Linked DNA regions of Homo sapiens: region 2 is linked to region 1. The links are contacts of gene promoters, found by promoter capture Hi-C in human tissues and cell types (Jung and others, 2019). All regions are on one chromosome and are shown on one strand. Each heading gives the region's core, a stretch centred on a gene start or on the middle of the fragment in contact. The rest is flanking DNA. Distances are from core to core; before and after follow the strand shown.

The links. Contacts are between HindIII fragments. The study calls those that stand out against the background at their distance.
Region 2: a fragment that was not itself captured here is called in contact with the fragment with the promoter of RGS12 in region 1 in 1 of the 25 tissues and cell types used here (psoas muscle).

The regions. Positions count from the first base shown.
Region 1 is chr4:3,290,636-3,295,912 of GRCh38, forward strand. It overlaps RGS12 (regulator of G protein signaling 12), which reads left to right and starts at 2,386. Exons shown (of 18, transcript NM_001394154.1): 1 at 2,386-2,464. RefSeq lists silencers at 1,692-1,801, 1,982-2,461, 2,472-2,521, 4,545-4,740 and an enhancer at 3,175-3,760. The HindIII fragment of the contact is 22,100 bases long and covers 1-5,277 here.
Region 2 is chr4:1,932,156-1,937,432 of GRCh38, forward strand. It overlaps NSD2 (nuclear receptor binding SET domain protein 2), which reads left to right. Exons shown (of 22, transcript NM_001042424.3): 7 at 2,989-3,107. Among named protein-coding and RNA genes, the nearest start is that of MIR943, 52 kb to the right of the region's middle. The HindIII fragment of the contact is 3,686 bases long and covers 1,451-5,136 here.

The DNA of each region.
Region 1 (5,277 bases), core at 1,136-3,635:
AGCCTATGAGCTGTGGGTAGGGCCGCTGAGCCGCTGCCTGGCAGGCACGGAAGAGCAGGTGCACGCTTCTCCATGGCCCTCCCTGTGCCAACAGAGGCCGCCCTGCCAGTCTGGGCCCAAGAGTGAAGCCTACAGGAGGAGAACCACAGGGGCCAGGGACTGACCACCCAGAGACTTGGGCATGGTTCTGTGTCTAGCCCCTCCAGATGGACTGAATGAGTTTTGCTTAATTGGCAAGACCTACCTTTTCAAAACCTTCCAGCATGACACTTGACACCTTCTCTCCGTCTCAGGCAATTTCTCCCCACTTCTGGGGGCCCTGGCTTTCACGGGGATGGACTAGGGTGCTTCCTCCCACAGAAACAGCTTCTTGGGCCACCCCCCTGCTGGGCATGAGTTCTCTCACAGGCTCGGTGACCCCTCGTATGAGCTGCTCGTCCTCTTCCCCTACCCCTGTCCATGAGGCACCTGGAGGCCGGGCAAGTGTAGAGGAAAAAGCCAAAGGGAAAGAAGAGACCTGCAGGTGGTGTTTCCCCATCTCTCACTCAGGGCCACTTGTCCCTGCCCTGGAGCCTCAGGAGGCTGAGCTCTGCGGCCTGCTTCCTTCTGGCTTGGCGCTGCTCTGGAAGATTCCACCATCTGCGCATAGGCAGGAGCCAAGAAGGTCCACAGTTTTGGGGGGGCCAGGGTGGGGGCAGTTTCTTTCCTGGCTCTTTTTTTTTTTTTTTTGAGATGGAGTTTCACTCTGTCACCTAGGCTGGAGTGCAGTGGCACAATCTCGGCTCACAGCAACCTCCGCCTCCGGGGCTCAAGTGATTCTCCTGACTCTGCCTCCCAACTAGCTTCGACTATAGGCGCGTGCCACCACGCTTGGCTAATTTTTTGTATTTTAGTAGAGATGGGGTTTTGCCATCTTGCCCAGGGTGGTCTCGAACTCCTGAGCTCCGGCGATCTGTCCGCCTCAGCCTCTCAAAGTGCTGGGATTACTGGCACGAGTCACCGCGCCTGGCCTCTTCCCTGGCTCTCTCTGCTGGGTCATCAAGGGCTGGCTGTGTCCCTTGGCCATAGGTCGCAGCTCCTGTTAAGTATCTCTCTCTCTTTGTCTGGCTTCCTGTAACCGCTCTGGCCGCGCTCCTTCAGCCCTGCAGGTGAAAACAGTTCCCTCCCTGCTGTTACCTGTCCCAATTCAGCACCGCCCTGTGGCTTCCCGGCTCCCGGACCGCGCCTCTGCCAGCGGGAACCCTGCTGGACTCTTAATTAATTGTCCCACTGAGAATGCCATTGGTTTCCTCCTGGGATCCAAACTAATCACACAAGACTAGATGATGGAGAGCTGCCAAGAAACCATGGGGCGGTGGCGGGGACGGAGGGGAAGCGTTTTGAGCCCATCAAGGCAGGTGACAGGAAAGAAGCAAACCCGAGAGGGGCCGAGTCCCTGGGCGGGCGGCAGGGCTGGAGCGTGAACAGCAGCGACGGATGCGTCTCGAGGGAAAAACGCGGCGGGAGAGAATGAGGGGAAGGCAGGAAGGAAGGGGCAGGGAGACCCAGCGCCGGGGAAGGAAGACACGAAGAGGGCGAGGAAGGAACTCCGGCCTAAAGGGTGAAGGCGGCGGCTGGGACAGGGCCAGAGGCGCAGGCCGGGGCCGGGCAGCTCCTCCTCTCGTGCCAGCGGTGCCTCCGGTCCCGCCCTCGCTGCTGCCCGCGCTCCGGGAGGGGCAGACCCGCTGGACGCCGCAGTCACCGCGCCGCCTTCGCGGGCGTCCCGGGGCCCGGAGGGAACGGCCTTTCCTGGCTGTCCCCGTGGCTTCGCCGCGGGAACTCACGCCGCCCCCGAAGCTGCCGCCAGCTCCGGGCATCTGCCCAGCCGAAAAGCCAGGGCGCCGGGGCCTGACTCCCCACAGCCAGGTTTCCCGGGCACAGAGACCCAACGGGAGCGGGACTTCCTCGGACACCGACGGCGAAGGACAGAGACAGCCCAGGCAGGGGCGGCTCCTCCCGGCCACACCGACCTGCCCTTCGCAGGGTGTCCCGGGCCAGCGGAGGCAGAGAAAACCAGCTTGCGGGAACGCAGTCGCTCCCAGCACCAGGGCCGGGCCAGTGCGGGTACACACCGTGCGCACCAGCGCCGCCGCGCCCCCAACGGAAGTCCCGCCCCCGGCCGTGGAGGCCCCGTCCCTCGCTTCTTCTCATCCCTGCTTCCCTGGCAGTCCCGTTACCACGCTGTCCCGACGCGAAGGCCCTCGCCCCGCCCCGTGCCCCGCCCCCGCATCGCCCCGCCCCAACCCCACCCCCTTGGCCCCGCCTCACCAGGTTCGCCCCGCCCCTCTCCGTCCCCGCCCCTCCTCCGGCCTCGGCCCCGCCCTCGCCTCGACCCCGGGGGGCGGTGGCTGCCGAGGCGACCGTTGCGCGCGCGGGCGGTGGCGCGGGCCGAAGCGCCCGGAGCGGGAGCGAGCGGCGCGGCCCGGTAGGTGTGCGGGGCCGGGGCCGGGGCGGGGGCAGGGCGCGCCGCCTCCGCTCTTTCTTTCGTCTCCGGGGCGCGCGCCCGCGCCCTCCGCCTCCCGGCCGATCCCGGCCAGCCCTGCGCGGCGCCCGTCCCCTCGGGGTCGCCGCCCGCCCGCCCTGCCTTTTGTTCGCCGGCCTGACTCAGGCTCCTGGTCCCGGGCCCGGCGCGGGGCGGGGCGGGGCGGGGGCGGGGGCGGGCGGCGCGGGGCGCGGGCCTGTGGGGCCTCCGGCCGGGCGGGTGCGCGGCCTCCTGGGGCCCCGCGCTGTGAGGCCCGCCCGGGCCCTTGGCGGGACCCGCGGGGGCGGCGCCGGGCAGGGGGTCCCGCGGGCGAGATGCGCCCGGGAGCGCTGGGAGGGTTCCCTCGTCGGACTCCACGAGCGGCCGCTTTGTTAGGGCAGAAGCTGCCTTCCGAGACCCGAACTCCAGACGCACTGCAGCGACCTGGGGTCGCCTCAGCCGCGGTGCCGCGATTGTGCAGTGTAGACAGAGGGGTCCCAGAGCCGTGCGGTGTAGACAGAGAGGGGCCCAAAGCTGTGGAATGGGGACAGAGAGGGGACCCAGAGCTGTGGAGTGTAGACAGAAAGGGCGCCCAGAGCCATGGAGTATAAACAGTGGAGTGTAGACAGAGAGGGGGCCCAGAGCTGTGGAGTGTGGACAGAGAGGGGGCCCAGAGCCGTGGAGTGTAGACCGAGAGGGGGCCCAGAGCCGTGGAGTGTAGACAGAGAGAGGGCCCAGAGCCATCTAGTGTAGACAGAGAGGGGACCCATAGCTGTGGAGTGTAGACAGAGTCTCATAGCCGTGCAGACAGAGAAGGGGCCCAGAGCCATGGAGTGTAGACAGTGGAGGGTGAACACAGAGGGGGCCCAGAGCCGTGGAGTGTGGACAGAGAGGACCACCTGGCCTCTCACCTGCTTGGTCACTTGCTGGGAATGTGTCCCTGGGCAGGTGACCACCTTCTCTGTGCCTGAGTTTCCTCATTGGACCTGTCTTTGGAGCTGCTGCAAGGGCTAAGAGTGTCTTTGTCTGAAGTCCTCAGCGTGGTCCATGCCGTCCTGTGCAGGGCCCTTCTGAGGCCACAGGGACGTGCAGGATGGCCGGCAAGGCCTGCACAGAAGGGGCGCTGGGGGGCCTTCCCAGGCAAGGCAGCAGCCCCACCATTCACAGCAAGGAGACTACCAAGGAGGGCAGAGAGGCGGCTTTGGGCAGCAAGGGCTGCTGGGGTGGAGTCCTGCTGGCCTTCCCCTAGAGAAGGCGACGTGGGGAGGGCAGAGCAATTCTGAGTAAGGGAGAACCAGTTTATATTTCACTTTAGAAAGTAATTGTCACAGTGCGAAGTTTCTTCCCCTGAAAAAGCGATATAAAAAGGTCCATCGTGGCCAGTGCTTTTGGGGACTTGAGATGATGGGTATCCGGTGCCCGGGCCCTGCGTGGTGCCTCAGCTGGATGCTCTGCAGGTGGGGGAGGCCATGTTGGCTGAGGGCAGGGGCTCAGGCAAGGGCAGTGGGGTGGCTGAGCCTGCACAAGTTGGTGCACCCCTGTCTGGGTCTTTTTCTTAAAACTGCAAGTCCAGCCTTATCTCTGAGACCTCCTGAGGCTGGAACCTGCCATCAGACAGGCTTACAGTTCTAGCCCTGGTAACTGCAATGATGCGGATGCCTCTGTGACTGGCAGAGCAGAGGGAGGAGCGACAGGGCAGTGGTGACCGGAGGTCTCAGGGAGGTTGACAAAGACAAGGGCGGAGGAAAGGCCCCTCACGTGGACTGGAGGTACAGTACTGACCTGTGGAGTGCTCAGGAGAGGGCAGGGGTGGCGCGGCCTGAGGGCATGTCCTGGGGAGGGTCAGGAGGTGGGAGGGAGGCACTCGACAGGCACTGCAAAGAGGAGGGAATCCAGGGTCAAGGGCTGGCTCCCTTTCTGCCCTGTTTAGGATGAGGGTCTCGGGGAAGAAGGGGTGGCCAGGCCGAGGAGACCTGTGGCGCTGGGAGCTGGGACTCAGTGAGGTCCTGGAGGTGGTGAGGGCCCAGAGGTGACAGCTGGTGACCCAGCCGGCCTGGCTGCTGCTGTGGGAAGGTCGGGGGTAGAGGAGATGGAGGACAGGCTGAGGCTGCCGCTAGTCAGCGCTTCCGGCTGATAGAAGGGGGCTGAGTGGGCTCTGCAGGCCTGGTTGACAGTATGTGGATCACATTGACTTTGGACCTTTATTTTTGTCTGAGACTGACCAAGCAAAATAATCAGGCTGGGCTGGGTGCAGTGACTTAACGCCTGTAATACCAGCACTTTGGGAGGCTGAGGCAGGTGGATCACCTGAGGTCAGGAGTTCGAGACCAGCCTGGCCAACATGGTGAAACCCCGTCTCTACTAAAAATACAAAATTATTCGGGTGTGGTGGCAGACGCCTGTAATCCCAGCTACTCGGGAGGCTGAGACACAAGATTCGCTTGAACCTGGGAGGCGGAGGTTGCGGTGAGCCAAGATTGCGCCATTGCACTCCAGCCTGGGTGACAAGAGCAAAACTCTGTCTCAAAAAAAAAAAAAAAAAAAAAGCTCCATCTCAAAAACAAAGACAAACCAACAACAACAACAACAAAAAGCAGGCTGAAGGAATAAACAACTCATTAGTTACGACTTAACACATGCAGGGCTTCAAGCACACAAAATCCTAAAGCCCAGACCATTTTACATTTTATTTGAATTTGGTGGAATTCCTAGAAACATTTCCCTTCCCAGTTGTATGAGTTTCCTATTGCTGTGTAACAAAGCACCACTCACTTAGT
Region 2 (5,277 bases), core at 2,044-4,543, 1.4 Mb before region 1:
TCTGGGCACGGTGGCTCACACCTGTAATCCCAGCACTTTGGGAGGCCAAGGTGGGTGGATCACTTGAGGCCAGGAATTCAAGACCAGCCTGGCCAACATGGTGAAACCCCATCTCTACTAAAAATACAAAAAAATTAGCCAGGCCTGGTGGTGCATGCCTGTAATCCCAGCTACTCGGGAGGCTGAGGCACGAGAATCTCTTGAACCCGGGAGGCAGAGGTTGCAGTGAGGCAAGATCACGCCACTGCACTCCAGCCTTGGCGCCAGAGCAAGAGTCAATCTCCAAAAAAAAAAAAAAAAAAAAATTCCAGCCCGGCGCAGTGGCTCCCGCCTGTAATCCCAGCACTTTGGGAGGCCGAGGTGGGCAGATCACCTGAGGTCGGGAGTTTGAGACCAGCCTGACCAGCATGGAGAAACCCCATCTCTACTAAAAATACAAAATTAGCCAGGCGTGGTGGCACATGCCTGTAATCCCAGCTACTTGGGAGGCTGAGGCAGGAGAATCGCTTGAACCTGGGAGGCGGAGATTGCAGTGAGCCGAGATCGTGCCATTGGATTCCAGCCAATGGAATGGCCAACAGGAGCGAAACTCCATCTCAAAAAAAATGAAAATCCATACAGATGCCCCTGTTGCTTGTTTCTGTAAGAAGCGGCTGCTGCCTCATCCTGGATGAATGGAGAGGTGCTCAGGAGGTGCTGTGTCGAGGATGTGCTGTGTCAAGGACCTCGCCTGTGGGAAAGCGAGGCGCGGGGCTGGCTTTGTGCTCACGAACGGGTGTTCTGAAGGCAGACCTGCCTGAGGGGGGCCTCGAGAGTTTGGCTGGCTGTGCCATGTGGTGCCTATGCTTGGCAGTGCCTGAGCAGGTCCTGCTGCCGAGCATTCCACGGGCTTCTTCCCCAGACTGCCTTTGCACCAGCCTGCAGTGGTGTGGCCAGGAGTGGGCTTCACGAGGGCTGCTTGCCTGGCCCCCATCACACCAGGCTGGAACTGCAGCTGGTGAGGGCCCCCACGCTTTGGCTGCTGACTCTTCTTGCGCATTGGGCTCAGGCCTAGACCTGAGGTGAGGCTCTGTGAATGCATTGGCAGCAGGGCACGGACACTTACTTGTACCTCTGCCTGAGGCCTTGCTGGACCCTGTGGAGCTGAGCACTCTTTTGCTGGTGTCTCCTGTCCCAACAGTAGTGAGGCTTGAGGGTGACAGCGTCCTTCAGGGCAACAGTGTCCTTCTGCAAGATGTTTTTTTTCTTTGAGTTGGAGTCTTGCTCTGTCGCCCAGGCGGCTGGAGTGCAGTGGCGCGATCTCGGCTCACTGCAAGCTCCGCCTGGCGGGTTCATGCCATTCTCCTACCTCAGCCTCCCGAGTAGCTGGGACTACAGGCGCCCGCCACCATGACCAGCTAATTTTTTTTTTTGTATTTTTAGTAGAGACGGGGTTTCACTCTGTTAGCCAGGATGGTCTCGATCTCCTGACCTCGTGATCCACCCACCTCGGCCTCCCAGAGTGCTGGGATTACAGGTGTGAGCCACCGCGCCCGGCCCTGCAAGATGTTTTATGAAGAGTCCATTAATAAAAACCCTGAACCCCTCCGTAAAGCAGTCATGCAAATGATAATATTGGATTTATATTTAAAATAAACATTGGCATGTTGAAATTAATCATCTCTGTAGAATTTGCACTTACACCTTACCGTCTTAGGTTGATATTGTTTGGATGCCTTAGGTCTTGGATTAACTGCTATTCCTGGGAACACCTAACACATGGAACAGCTGAGCAAACATGGAGGAAGCCCTTAATTTGCATATATAAATGTTGTGTTACTACTTAACATGTTTAAGGAAATGTTTAAAAAGTAGCAAGTTGTTTTTTTTTTTAAGTTCAACTTAAATTCCACAAGTCTTTGAATGTTAGTAAGGAAAAGATTTTTTTTTTGTTTTTCGTTTTTTTTTTAGACAGAGTTTCGTTCTTGTTGCCCAGGCTGGAGTGCAATGGCACAATCTCGGCTCACTGCAACCTCCACCTCCTGGGTTCAAGCGATTCTTCTGCCTCAGCCTCCTGTGTAGCTGAGATTACAGACATGTGCCACCATGCCTGGCTAATTTTGTATTTTTAGTAGAGATGGGGTTCCTCCATGTTGGTCAGGCTGGTCTCAAACTCCCGACCTCAGGTGATCCGCCCACCTCAGCCTCCCAAAGTATTGGGATTACAGGCATGAGCCACCATGCCCGGCCTAGGAAAAGATTTTTTTAAAATACTGGGCTATCAGGAGGCAGAGGTTGCAGTGAGCTGAGATTGTGCCATTACACTCCAGCCTGAGCTACAAGAGCGAAACTCCATCTCAAAAATAAATAAATAGATAAAATACTGGGTTATATTTAAATTTAATGCTTTAATACATTAAATTATAATTATAAGGCCAGGCGCGGTGGCTCACGCCTGTAATCCCAGCACTTTGGGAGGCCGAGGCAGGCGGATCACGAGGACAGGAGTTCGAGACCAGCCTGACCAACATGGTGAAAACCCATCTTTACTAAAAATATAAAAATTAGCTGGGCGTGGTGGCACGTGCCTGTAATCCCAGCTACTCAGGAGGCTGAGGCAGGAGGATGGCTTGAACCCACGAGGCGGAGGTTGCAGTGAGCTGAGATTGTGCCACTGCCCTCCAGCCTGGGTGACAGAGCGAGACTCCATCTTAAAAAAAAAAAAAAAAAAAAAAAAAAAAAAAATATATATATATATATATATATATATATATAAAAAACAGATAAAACAGATGCTAATATAATCCCTAAGGTTAGATATAGTCACCAGTTTTTTTGTTGTAAAGAGATTTGATCTGTAAGACATAAGCCCTGGAAATCAGCAGGGTTACAGGAAACCCATCATGGGCTGGATCTGTATGTTGAATGCCCTGGGTAGGTTCTCACAGTGCTTCAAATGCAGCTTTTGGAGTGGTTTTCATGTACATTTTCCCCATTCCCCATTCCAAGGTAATGTAAATGGGAAAAAAAGAAACCACACAAAGAGGATACAGGACCCTACAGAAGATGCTGAAGCTGAGGACACACCCAGGAAAAGACTCAGGACGGACAAGCACAGTCTTCGGAAGGTAATTGTGTTCCAGGTTTGCTTGACCTGTCAGAGTGTATGCTCTGTGACTCTTGGTGCCACTGTTTCCCTGCATGGGAGCACACATGAGATGCAGGTGTCAGTGCACCCAGCTCCTTCCAGGCTGGTATTCAGCAGAAGGCTTGCATTTCTTACAGAACCCCATTGAGAAAGGCTGCTTGCAGGTTCTTACCCTCCAGGGGTGTTATCACAGAAACCGATGGTGTGTTGCTCTGCAAGAAAACAGACATCCAAATGCTTTGAGTAATACTTGTTTTTTAGATTGGACAAAATTGTCACTAAAAATAACCTCTTTGGCCGGGTGTGGTGGCTTACGTCTCTAATCCCAGCACTTTGGGAGGCCGAGGCAGGTGGATTGCTTGAGGTCAGGAGTTCGAGACCAGCCTGGCCAAGATGGTAATACCCCGTCTCTACTAAAAATACAAAAAATTAGCTGGGCATGGTGGCGTGCACCTGTAATCCCAGCTACTCAAGAGGCTGAGGCAGGAGAATTGCTTGAACCTGACAGGCAGAGGTTGCTGTGAGCTGAGATCATGCCACTGCACTCCAGCCTGGGCGACACAGCAAGATTCTGTCTCAAAAAAAAACAAACAAAAAAACCCCCAAACACCATAACCTCTCTATAGGGCTTATTATTCAGGATGTAAGTAATGAACTGGCATCAAAGTCCATTAGAGATATGTGTTACATGTCAATAAAAAGTCAACAGTTCATTAAAGGCAATGAACCTAGATTTTATTTAGTTTATTAGTAATTCATGTTATTGTTTACTGAATGGGAATACTAAACAGGCTGTGCAGGAAAAGTGCAGCATAGATACAAAGCCAGCCCCGGGTCCTTGTGCTCCTCGCTTACTGCCAGCATGTGTCCAGGGACAGAGTTTGCCTGGTACCTGCAGGGGAGTGAAACCAACCAAGGAAACACCGGGTTATTCTGTCTAGCGTATGGTGCCCATGCATGTAGAAGACGTGAGCCCTTTTCCTAGTGTATGAAGTGGTGCCATTCATTTCAACTGTCTCAGATGTCCGGTTAACTTTTTCATGAACTGAGACTTTAATTAGACTTTGTACTTTGTTTGAATTTCTATTTTATTCGATAATAGTTCTGGCCGGGTGTGGTAGCTCACACCTGTAATCCCAGCACTTTGGGAGGCTGAGGCAGGTGGATCACCTGAGGTCAGGAGATCAAGACCAGTCTGGCCAACATGGTGAAACCCCATCTCTACTAATAATACAAAAATTAGTCGGGTGTGGTGGTGCATGCCTGTAATCTCAGCTACTCGGGATGAGGCAGGAGAATCACTTGAACCTGGGAGGCGGAGGTTGCAGTGAGCTGAGATTGCGCCACTGCACTCCAGCCTGGGTGACAGAAGGAGACTCCATCTCAAAAAAAAAAAAAAAAAAAAAAGTTCTGACAGAGTAGTTGTATATTTGTGATTTTGAGTAAAGCTTCATCCTGTTTTTCACTGATCTGAGTTAAAATGCTCTTTTTATTTCAAAGAATGGAAAATACATCTCACATATTGCTAAGGTGTAAATATGTGGACACCATATCATTTACCTTATTTCTTTAAACTTGTATTTGTAGTTGAGAGGAGCAGGCAGGCCCTGCGCCATTTTTCTGGCCCACAGAACATTCTTCTGGGGCACCTGCCATAGGTGAGGTTGTTGAGTGATCAAGTGTTCAGCAGTAAGCTAGGTCAGATTCACCTGTAGTCACTAAGGTTTGTAGTTACCAGGAAGCCTGCACTTAACATTTGCTCTGGTCACCTAATTTTTTTTTTTTTTGAGAGGGAGTCTCACTTCGTCACCCAGGCTGGAGTGCAGTGGTGCAATCTTCACTCACTGCAACCTCCGCCTCCTCGATTCAAGTGATTCTCCTGCCTCAGACTCCCGAGTAGCTGGGATTACAGGTGCGTGCCACCATGTCCAGCTAATTTTTTTGTATTTTTAGTAGAGATGGGGTTTCACCATGTTGGCCAGGCTGGTCTCAAACTCCTGACCTCAAGTGATCCGCCCACCTCCACCTCCCAAAGTGCTGGGATTACAGGTGTGAGCCACTGCGGCTGGCCAGGTTACCTTCTATTAAAGCAGCCCTTTGCTGGCAATCATACTGAAACTGGTTGTTTTGAAATATTTGTGTAAATGTTA